Regions from separate parts of the Homo sapiens genome. Here region 1 is linked to region 2. The links are contacts of gene promoters, found by promoter capture Hi-C in blood cells and fetal thymus (Javierre and others, 2016). All regions are on one chromosome and are shown on one strand. Each heading gives the region's core, a stretch centred on a gene start or on the middle of the fragment in contact. The rest is flanking DNA. Distances are from core to core; before and after follow the strand shown.

Evidence for each region. Contacts are between HindIII fragments. The CHiCAGO score rates a contact against its expected background, and 5 or more counts as called.
Region 1: a fragment that was not itself captured here is called in contact with the fragment with the promoter of NCK2 in region 2 in 4 of 17 cell types (fetal thymus, total B cells, M1 macrophages and 1 more); the score reaches 7.6 in fetal thymus.

What each region holds. Positions count from the first base shown.
Region 1 is chr2:106,536,199-106,541,854 of GRCh38, reverse strand. It overlaps a transcript of CD8B2 not described here. Among named protein-coding and RNA genes, the nearest start is that of CD8B2, 52 kb to the right of the region's middle. The HindIII fragment of the contact is 1,663 bases long and covers 2,043-3,705 here.
Region 2 is chr2:105,741,340-105,746,731 of GRCh38, reverse strand. It overlaps NCK2 (NCK adaptor protein 2), which reads right to left and starts at 1,820. Exons shown (of 5, transcript NM_003581.5): 1 at 1,594-1,820. RefSeq lists enhancers at 510-559, 660-729 and silencers at 1,100-1,489, 1,600-1,659, 1,850-2,169. The HindIII fragment of the contact is 4,864 bases long and covers 183-5,046 here.

The DNA.
Region 1 (5,656 bases), core at 1,625-4,124, 790 kb before region 2:
GGAGTTGGAAGGATAGAAGGGATGAAATATGTTGGTAGGTTCTCTATTCCAGTGACTTTCCAACTTTTTAAACTGCAACCTGCAATAAAGAATGCCTTTCACAATGCCACTCAATATACAGAAATATACATGCATGTGTGGTGGACATTCATATAATGCAAACATACATACAATATGTAATGCACTCCCACCTTGTATGGTCTCTATTTCATTAATAGAGAGAGATTTCATAATCCACTAACAGGTCGCATCTTACGGTTTGAAAAATGCATTCTAAAATGGTTTCTCAACCTCATACCTTTGACGTTTTGGGCCAGGTGATTGCTGGTTGTGGGAGCTGTCCTGTTCATTGCACAATGTTTAGCAACATATCCGCTAGATGCCACTAGCATCCCCTTCCCAAGTTCTGACAGCCAATAATGTGCCTGGACATTGTCAAATGTGCCCTGGGGTGCAAAACTGCCCCTTGGTTGAATACCACTGCCCTAACCAAAGGGAAATAATCTGGTTTTGGGGGAAGAGGACGTTTGACCTCACATTCAGGAGTGAGTGGCCCTACTTCCATAGGGGGTCACTAACCACCAACAAGAGAGAAGAAACTGACCAATTTTGAGCATGAATGACGGAGAGGGATCTAGAGTTAGTGGGAGGTCCTAGTGATACACAGATACAAACAGGCATGCTGCAGACCTTGTCACACAGCCAGCGTGCCACCGTGGCCTACCTCAAACCACACCTGCCTGCCTTCCTCTGCCCCAGCCCACCAAGCCTGCCCACCACAGGGCCCTTGCACATCCAGCTCTCTGCAAAACTCTTCATTCCCTCTCCTCCTGCTGGGCTCCTGTGGACCATTGAGTCTCTTAAAGGTCATTTTCCCCAAAAGGCTGTCTCCACTCCCCCAGCCGAATGAAGCTCCCCTGATATGCCTTCAAGACACCCGCTAGTTGTCACTTTGAATACTTACTGCAAAAGGTAGTTATAAGAGTATTTGGGGCCGGGCACAGTGGCTTGCGCCTGTAATCCCAGCACTTTGGGAGGCCGAGGCAGGTGGTTCACAAGGTCAGGAGTTCGATACCAGCCTGGCCAAGATGGTGAAACCCCATCTCTACAAAAAATAGAAAAATTAGCCTGGCGTGGTGGTAGGCGCCTGTAATCCCAACTACTCAGGAGGCTGAGGCAGGAGAATCACTGGAACCCAGGAGGCAGAGGTTGCAGTGAGCTGAGATTGCGTCACTGCACTCTAGCCTGGGTGACAGAACAAGACTCCATCTCAAAAAAAAAAAAGGAGTATTTGGATGATTATTTGCTTGATTTACTTTTTCCCCCTCAAGACTGTGAAAGTCCTGAAAGCAGGGGGTTTGCCTGCTTGGCTCACCCAGAACAACAAGCCGACTTGCTAAATGAGGGAGTGGTACTGCCAGTTGACTTCATTCTTGGTCCTATTTTTATCTGTTTTGAGATTGACATTAATGCGCCTTTGGTGGGCTGGTCTCCTAGGGCTAATTGTCATTTCTTTGCAGTAAGAAATGTTGAAAAGCTTTTTAAATAAAATAATGAAAATACGAATTTCTCACAAAGGCTGAGTTTCTAATAACATAATTATTCCAACACTCATCTTGAGACCACATAATTAAGAAACAGTAATACTTGGATATTTTTTTTAATTTGAGAGGTCTACATAAACGATTCTCTGCATGATTCTTTCTTTGATCATTGAAGCTGTCATTTTCTTTTTTCATTCTTAGGAAATCATTCCACATAACAAAATTGAATTTCTTTCAAGCCATAAAATTATTGGAATATAACATCCACCCTAACTTCATCTACATAACATGAAGTATATAATTTCCACTCAAAATTAATTCTCAATGTAAACAAGAATAACAATAAACCAAAATTCACTTATGTTTACTATGAAATAGATTTAACGATCAGGAAGTCCCATGACAAAAAAGGGAGATTCAGTGACGGGAACAGTGATTAAGTTAGCCAAGATGCTCAGCAGTAGGAGAATACACTTTTTTTTCCCACTTGGCAAAGCTTAAATAATTTTTTAAGTGTCAGATTCTGTTCTTATTTTATCAGCCAAAGGAGGCTTGGTTTCCAAGCCGTGTATCCGTCAAGAAATTGGAATTCAAGCAAACACATATTTTGAAGTTTGATGCATTGAAGCCAAACACTGTAGAGACAATGATAAATATGATATGGTCCATCTTAAAAATGTTTTTGGTGTTTGTGTGAAACATCCTGTAAGCTGGAATTAAGCAGCAAAGAGCAATGATGCCCAGAAGCTGCAGCCCCGTGTGGCCCCCTAATTCCACAGTAAGACCCCTTATTTGTCTTCAGAATAAAAGATGAGCACACCGCACACATGGTATTGTGTCCCAAGTACATCAACTTTCCATGTTTTGGCGTGGAAACAAGAAACATCTTTACTTCAATTCCATAAAGTAGTTCTCTAAATTTTAGAAATATAAATATGTTTGCCTTTTGGGACCAATATATATATTTCCCCTTGAACTCACTTATTCATCCATTTATTTCACAAATTTATAAGGAGCTTGCCCTGTGCTAGGTGCTGTGATACCTGCTGGAGACACAGTGGTGAAGAGACACAGGAGGTCTCAGCACACAGGTGAGACCCACACATGGGCCCCGAGTGCTGTGGGGGCACCAGGCACTCTGCTAAGTGCTTCATGTGCCTCACTCATCAACACAGCAACTCCATGGGGCAGGCACTGCCCTGGCCCTGAAATGAGTGAGGCCAAGGTGTGTAAGTGAACACGTGTTCACTTGCGCTGTGACCAGGTAGAGTCAGAAGTTCAGCCAGCACACACCAGCTGCAAGAACCCGGCTCTGAAGTCCTCATGTGTCACTAGTTCATGAGCTACTGATCACACACATGCAGTCACACAGATAAACAGTCACACCGTGCACAAGCTCTGGGAGGGGGACACACTGCATATGAGACTGTTTCAGATGGCAGTGCCCGGCCTGATGAGGAAGGGCAAGGAAGGCCCCCAGGGGAAGCCTTGAGGCAGTGTGGAAGGGTGGGTGGGTGGAGAGCATAATATGAAGAGGGAGGGGTCCAAGCTCAGCACAGATGCCAAGAGCCAGACCTTTGAAAATATGTGGCCAAGACCCAGGAGTGCCTGGACACACGGAAGCCAGCTATTACCAGAGATAGTGACATGCAGGTGAACATCTGGGGAGTAGGAGGTGGGGAAGGGTGTTACAGACAGGAATTCCTACTCAGGACACTGCTCGGCTCTAGATAGCGCAAAGGTGAATTTTCCAAGGTAAATGCACTTTGTGAGATCTCAAGTGCCACACAGATTCACAGTCACCCTTATTACAACATGGGGAAATTTTAATCACTGCTAATAGTAGATGCTCAAGTCCTAAGATCTTATGAAACAAGCCAAGAAAGCTACTTCTGATCAATTTTAAGAACAAGTAAAGAGAAAAGCAGGCCATTTGTGTACCGTTTCAAGCAAAAAGCAACAAGATGAATATTCTTCATGTATACATAGCCTACATAGGCTGAAGGCTCCATCTCAAAATTCCCCTTCACAGCCTAAACCTTCCTCAGCCCCTGAGTTGACCACCCTGCCTATACCGTATTTTCCCGTTTCTCAAATCACTGGCAAGTGTTATTTGGGAATTGAGTCATATTGGCTAGTTTTGTGCCACCATGAGGAAGCTTGCAAGGTCTTTGGTAGTCAAGCTGATGACTTACGCTTCCCTAGACCAGCAGCTTTGTCTGGGCACACCCAGATGCGTGCAAACACTTTGAGCACTGAAGGTCCGCAGGCCTCCGCAATCACTGAGCATTTGAGACTCCTCTGGGGCCATGCATCCACCAGCTCTCAGCGCAGGTCAGAAAAGGAGCCTCACAGAGACTTCTCATTTATTTTACATTCATTACCCTGCTAATTTCCAAAGCGAGGTGCCTGAAGCTAGCTTAGCAACAAGCAGGCGTGACGGCTGTCCCACGGCTGATTCTGAATGTGCTTTGTCAGTGTGTTTGTTTTTCCTTCGTGCTAACTTTATCTTCAGAACCTATTAAGTTTAATCCCAGCAGTACTAATTAGAGGTGGCAACAACAGAAATCCTCTGCAAGGGCTTTTAGAAATCGACCGCCACTTCAGTAAGAACAGCCATGCTCTTCTTTTCATTCCTTGTCGCTTCCTCGGGCATTCCACAAGGAGCTACAATCTGGTGTTTAGAGAGCTGAAGGGCACTTATAGAACCAAGCTCTACACCAAGTAAAAAGAGATTTTAAGCATATGTGGATTCAAATGAGAAATCTGTGCAAGTGTGCCACACACCTCTCTTAACCTCATTTGGGGATTTCTGTGCATACTGTACTTAAAATTAAGTAAGATAAGCTGTTTTTAAGATGTCGTGTCTTGGTGGCGTTGAACCATAATTTTCTGCCTCCTCAGTGGAAGTTCAAGCTTGTGGTCATACAAGGAAATGTAAACTCTGAAACTGAAGAGCTTCACTAGGACTACTAGGGAAGTGCAAGTTTAGGGAAATGAAAGTTGTCTCCAGGGTATGACATCATCTGATGACCTTGTGATGAGCCCATGGTTTATTAAATGTGTTTAAAACACACATAGGGAAGTGAGGGGTGAGAGACGGGGCAGGTTAATAGCAGGGCAGCATTTGGGGGGAAGCCCAGAGCATGAGGCCTGGTTAGCACCATATTCACATGTCCTGTCTTCCTCTCCCACATCGGTTTTCCCTGCTGATGGGGTGGTGACGAAGACCAGATTTGGAGTTGGATCAGGGCCTCACAGACAAAGGGCACCTAGAGCCAACAGCACAGATGTGTCCTATTGGAGAAACACAGCAACTTGTTCTTCTGAGAGACGTACTGCACTGGCTATAGCTGCAGGTCGCCAGTTAGCCTGCTGGACAGCCACAGTTTGATTGGCATGCTCTGGGCTGATGCAGGGGTAACAGAGCTGTCAGTCCAGTGAGGGCATGATCAGTAACACTATTTGCGCCATCATATATTCCATGTAAGACTTCTGTCTTCAACACATCACACCCATAATTAACTCACCATTGAACACATTGATGAATCTGCCCTTACTTCACAAGCCACTTCTCACTCATTTCCTTACCGTAACACACCCTTTGAGATGCACCTGCACCTCATGAGCTGGCAGCTCGCCTACCCTCTGTGCTTAATATGCTTCTCAGTTTCACCCTTTTCATCTATTCATTGTTCTCTACAGCAAAGCTGAATATACTTGATACAGCAAAGTCATGTCACAGTAAGAATCTAAAGTCCATTAGGAGTAAGTTTTGGGAAACCTCTCCCACCAACCTATATCTAAGCTGAAATGGTTTGGGTCTGTGTCCCTGCCCAAATGTCATGTCAAATTTAATCCCCAAAGTTGGAGGCAGGGCCTGGTGGGAGGTGATTGGATTTTGAGGGTGGATTTCTCCCTTTGCTGCTGTTCTTGTAGCAGAGTTCTCAGGAGATCTAGTTGTTTAAAAGTGTGTGGTGGCCAGGCGCAGTGGTTCATGGCTGTAATCCCAGCACTTTGGGAGGCCAAGGCAGGCGGATCACCTGAAGTCAGGAGTTCGAGACCAGCCTGACCAACATGGAGAAACCCTGTCTACTAAAAATACAAAATTA
Region 2 (5,392 bases), core at 571-3,070:
AAGCAGGTTAACACTTGCTTCTCAGGAAACCCCTGTTCCAAACGTCAAAAAACCTCCATGTCTAGCCCAATCTCCAGGTGAAGTCAATTTCTTCTCCACGTGTCCGATGACTGCCATTCTCTTTACGTAAAACTCGCAAGGCTTGAATCCTGTTACTAATTCACCTGCTTATCTATGAAGCTTGCAAAGTGAATTGAGGGAGTGTTCACACGCACAGTTCCGTTTTGGTAAGTTAAAGCGGCCCAGGTTAATTTCATTTTCAGTCACTTTTGAGACTTGATAACTACATCTAAAACAGAGGCATGAAAAACACCCTGAATCACTTTCATTCCTACACAAAATCCCTTCCGAGAAGCGGGGACTGCGCCTGGGCCAGGAAGGGACTCCCCTACCTGTAGGTCCCAGCAAGCCACGCCCACCGGCCTCTCAGGGTTGTTTCTTTCTGGGTCGAGGGACGGAGCTGGCCCTTGCGATATTTTAGGCCCCCTCCTGCCCACACTGGGGCCTGCTCATCCCATTATGCAGATGCAAACTTGGCAGAAGCAGCCTTAAACCTGTTGGCAAAATAAACAAAGCCAAATAAAGAGGAATCTGCCAACCTGAATTGTGTGAAGTGGCCAAGGCCGACTCCACGCACGCTCGGCTTTGTCCCTGAAGCTGTTACAATACTAGTTTAAGTCAGGTGCCTGGGGTCCACCAGCCAATGACCCCTAGCATCCACCGCAGACCTTCACAGAGATCCCCATTGTCTACAAATTAAAGCGTTTTGCAAATTAAACCCCTCCACACAATGCCAAGCTAACTGTGCTCATAAGGCAGTTACCCTCCATGCCTTAAAACTCACATATCAAATTTTTCCAAAAGCACTCGGTGATTAAATCGCCCTGAAAAAAACCGAGAGAGCCGAGCGATTGTGAGAAACTTTGGTTCATTCAGGTGGCTGTTAGAGTCCTGTAAATCTGGGGCAGGGCGCAGAGCCTGAAGCCGGGCACAAAAGCTCCCTTCGCCGAAGCGAGGACCTCCTTTATGCAATGTGACAGCAGCTTTGTGCGCGAACATAAATAGTTGTAATAAACACGGTTAAGTTCTCCCGGCCGATCGCGGCCTCCCCCGTCCCTGCGCCGGGGCCCTGCGATCCGCGGCTATTCTTCCCCGGCACACGCGCCCTGGCGACCCTGGCCACCGCACGGTCCCACGCTAGCCCCGAGCTCCGTGCCGGCCGCCCGCCTGCAGGCCAGGCGCAGCCTGCGCACCCGGGGGTCTCCAGTCCCCGGGCCCCGCAGCCGGGCCCCCTGCCCTGATCCTCGCCCGCGCCCTTGGCTGGCGTCCCCGCCCCTGGGCCGGCCCCCGATGGTGGGGGTTAGGGATGGGAAGGCGGGCAGGAAGGTGCAGAGCCGGGAGGTGCCCGGCAGTCCGCGGTCGGGGGCGCCCAGGCCGCGGCAGGGCCGAGAGCACCGGAGGGGCGCGGAGGGGACCCGCTCTCCTGGCCCCTTCCCGGGCGCACCCCGGCCCGCGAGCCCCGCCGCGCTCCCAACTCCGCCCAACGGCCCCAAGTTTGTGGCCCCCGCCCCACGCCCGCCTAGCCGCGCTTACCTCGCCGTGGGCCGCCCGCGGAGCCGGAGGGCAGCGGCGCGGGTCCCGGGGCGGTGGCCGCGCTGCGCCCGCCCAGGCGCCGCTCTTTGTCTGCGCCGCTCCCTCCTCCCGCCGCCGGGCGGACGCTGCCGGCCCGGGCGGACCCTGCCGGCCCGGGCGCCGCGAGCCTCCCGGCCGCCAAGCCCTCCCCTCCGCCCGCCGCCCGCTCGGCCGCGCGGCTCCGGCCTGACGATCCCCGCGGCAGCGGCGGCGGCGGCGGCGGCGGCGGCGGCGACCCTCCCCCGGCGCGCAGCGCCCGCCTCCTCCGCGCTCTTCCTCCTCCTCCCGCGCTCCTCCCCGGCCGCGCCGTGACGCCGCCCAGGGGCCGGCCCAGGCCCGGGCGCGCGGGGCGGGGACCCGAGACCCACCTGGGGCGCCCCCCGTCGTCGCCAGGCTCCGCGCCCGGGTCCCGGTACGGGCGCCGGGATAGCGCGGGGCTGCGGGACGCTCCGCTCTGGAGGCGCAGCACGGGCCGGGCGCCGGGGGCAGGAAAGGGTCCCCACGCCCGAAATTGCGTGCGGGCGGTGGGGGGCAGGGTAGGTGGGTGGGGAGGAGAGTGAAAACACAGACGGCAACTTCCAGCCTGGGATGACTGCCGGGTGGGCTTTGCGTCCTCTTTTTTGTTTGTTCGTTGTTCTTATCACGAAGCTCTAGTTGCTGGGCAGCCGCCCCCCTCCCGGAAGCATTCCCACGGCACTCAGCTAAGCAGGCCTGTTGTCCATCAGAAAAGTGACTTAAATAAAAATGTCACTTCCTCCCTGTAATTGCTTGTGGGCATTTTTATTTATTTGCTTTGCATCTATTTACTTTCCCAACCAGACACATTTTTAGTCCATCATCCCTGTCCGAGGCACTTCCTAAAAGAAGAAGAAACTCGACCTCTGTTGCCTCCCAGGCATCCAGGCCAGCCCCAGCCTGTGGAATCCTGGTTGCACACCCGTGGGGGCAGAACCCGAAGAGGAGCTGCCCGAATGTGCCCCTAGAAGGAGTGTCGCTAATGATGGGACCGTTCAGCTCACCCAGCCTCGAGTTGTGGCTAGCCTATAAACAAACTTGGAAGATGAAAACCCAAGAGCAAGGGGAAAGACACAAGTTTCCCTTTCACAGACACATGCATCCGGATGTCTTTTCTCCTCCCCATATGGTTTCCCAAAGGAAATCCTAATATTCAAATGATTCTGATTTCCTGGCAGGATAGCCTGCATCCATGTTAATGAGATTCTTTCTTAGGCTCCTGGTCTCTGCTTACTATTAAGGCAATAATAATTTACCCAAGGTTACAAGGCTGTATTATTTGATTCACTCATCTCCTGCTTCCTTCCAGAAGGGAAGTACCCAAGGATAGGTAACTAGAGTCAGCGTAGCTTTGAAGTCAGACAGGTGAGTGTTTGACTGTTGACTTCCTGAACTGTGTAACGTTGCACAGGTGGTCCTCAGCCTTTCTAAAATCTGTCATATGGGGAGATAATATTTACTTACCTCCTATGTGAAGTACCCTGGCAGTAGGTAGCCCTCAATAGCTCAGTAAGTGGAAGGAAGCACAGTACACTGAGCAGGAATCAGGTACAAGCTCAGGGAATCAGAACAGCCTCATTTTTCCTTGTTTTGACCTTGTGAAAGAAGCTACTTCAGTTCATCCTTTTGTGCAAGTTTTGTGTTACTAATATCTAGCTTTACAATAAGAAAAGAAGAATTCTAGTCATCAGTCTGCCCAATTTTAGATTAATTTACTCAAAATAAGTATAGCAATATTGACCCAGTTTGTAGCTTGTTTGCTTTGTAAACTTTCACTGAATCGTGGTTCTTGCATGCCTCTTCTTTCTCTGATTCTTTAGAAGTCACCGATGTCATTCTCTATCTAAATCCAGTGGCCCTTTATCAATCTTTATCCTGTGGAGTTTTCTGAAATATGTGGCATTTCTGCTATTTCCTGAAACACCATCATCTTTTCATTCATCAAACACAGCCAGTTCTGATTCTCTTACCTTTCTGACCTGCCCATCTGCCTCCTCTAGAGAGGTTGTTGTCTTCCCACCCTGTAAAAGTGATATCCCCAAGGCAGATGGTGGCCCTTTGTTTTTATTCTGATACGCACCTTTTTTTTTTAAAGAGAGAGTTGATTGTTTTTTGTACACTCCCTGTCTAAACCTTCATTGATTAACCCCCAGACCTGTAGCCTTAGAGAGCTCCCCTGCTAATCTGCAGAGCTCCCCAGCTAATCTGCACCCCCTAAACATGGCGCAGCATCTCTTCTAGGTCACCATGTTCAAAATGAAACTCATCTGCTCCCCAGACCAGCTCCTCCTCCCATGGTTTCAGGCCTGGCCAAGAGTCTACCAGGCACCTCAGCTCCTGGGAGAAATCTCATTGTTATCTTGGCTTTTCCTTCCCTCTCTCCGAGTTCTCCCCAAGAAAAGCTGGGAGAGCGCTGAATGACACCAAGACCCCTTGCAGACTACCCCCATGGTTCTGAGTCCTGGTGATTCTTAAACATCTTTTCCACTGCACCTTTCTTTCCATTTCCATCACTGGCATCCTAACTTATACATCATTCTAGCAATAGTTATAATGTACCTTGATTGAATTCTTGACATATATCATCTCTAATCCACACACAATAGTATTATACCCATTTTACAGATGAAATCACTTGAACAGTGGATCAAAGAACTGGGGTCAGAGCATGTACCTGACTCCAAAACTCTTGTTCAATTCCCCACAACTACTGCCTTCCAACTGGTCTCCCATTACTTCCTTCTTAAATCCCTCAGACTCACACTGGACATCAATGTCATCCTAACCTTCCTGTAAATTGTTTCCATTTGTCCCTGGTTGTGCTCAAGAACTTCTCATGGCTCCCCATTGCCCACCACAGTCTCCTCAAAAGTTATCTGATGACTGAAGACTGAGCATTTTCCCCCAGAGAGGCTGGGGTATTTAGCCCTTAGAGGCCTGTGTTCGTTTCCTGGGGCTGCCTTAACAAATGACCCCAAACTAGGTGACAAAACAGAGGTTATTTTCTCAAAGTTCTGGAGTTCAGAAGTCTGATATCAAGACACCAGCCTCTCTCCAAAGTCTGTAGAGAACAATCCTTCCCTGCCTCTTCCAGCTTCTGGTGGCTGCAGACATTCCTTGGCTTGTGGCAGTGTCACTCCCACCTCTGCCTCTCTGTCTTCACACAACCTGGTTCCCTGTGTCCTTTCCCTTCTCTCTTTTTGTAAAGACAAGTATCATTGAATTTAGGGCTCACTCTAATCCAGCATGATGTCATCTCGACATCCTTATCTTACAACATCTGCAAAGACCTTTTTTCCAAATAAGGTCGCGTTCTCGGCTTCCAGGTGAACATATCTTTTGGGGCCAACATCCAACCCACTGCAAGGCTTAACATGGGGGAGACATTTCTTTGAAGCTTATGTTTTATCTAAAAATATATAGGTTTTTCTGCATTCTACTCCATTAATGTGTCCACATCTGTTTTACTGTCTTCAATCACAAAGTATTGAAAGCATAAAAAACATGGAGTGGAAGGAGGTGCAGTAAACTTTTGCCTAAAATCACATCAGCATTACATCTTATGATCTCTCTTCCAAAGGCCTCTCCAACTTAGCCCTGCCATACAATCTCCTTTTTACCTCTGTCCAGTATAAGCTGTTTGCTTCAGTCACTCAGCTCTGCCCACAGTGCCACATTGAGTCACACTAGTTTCAGCCTTCTGTGGTGTGAAGGCAGCTAGGAATTCCCTGTCCCCGTCCTTCTC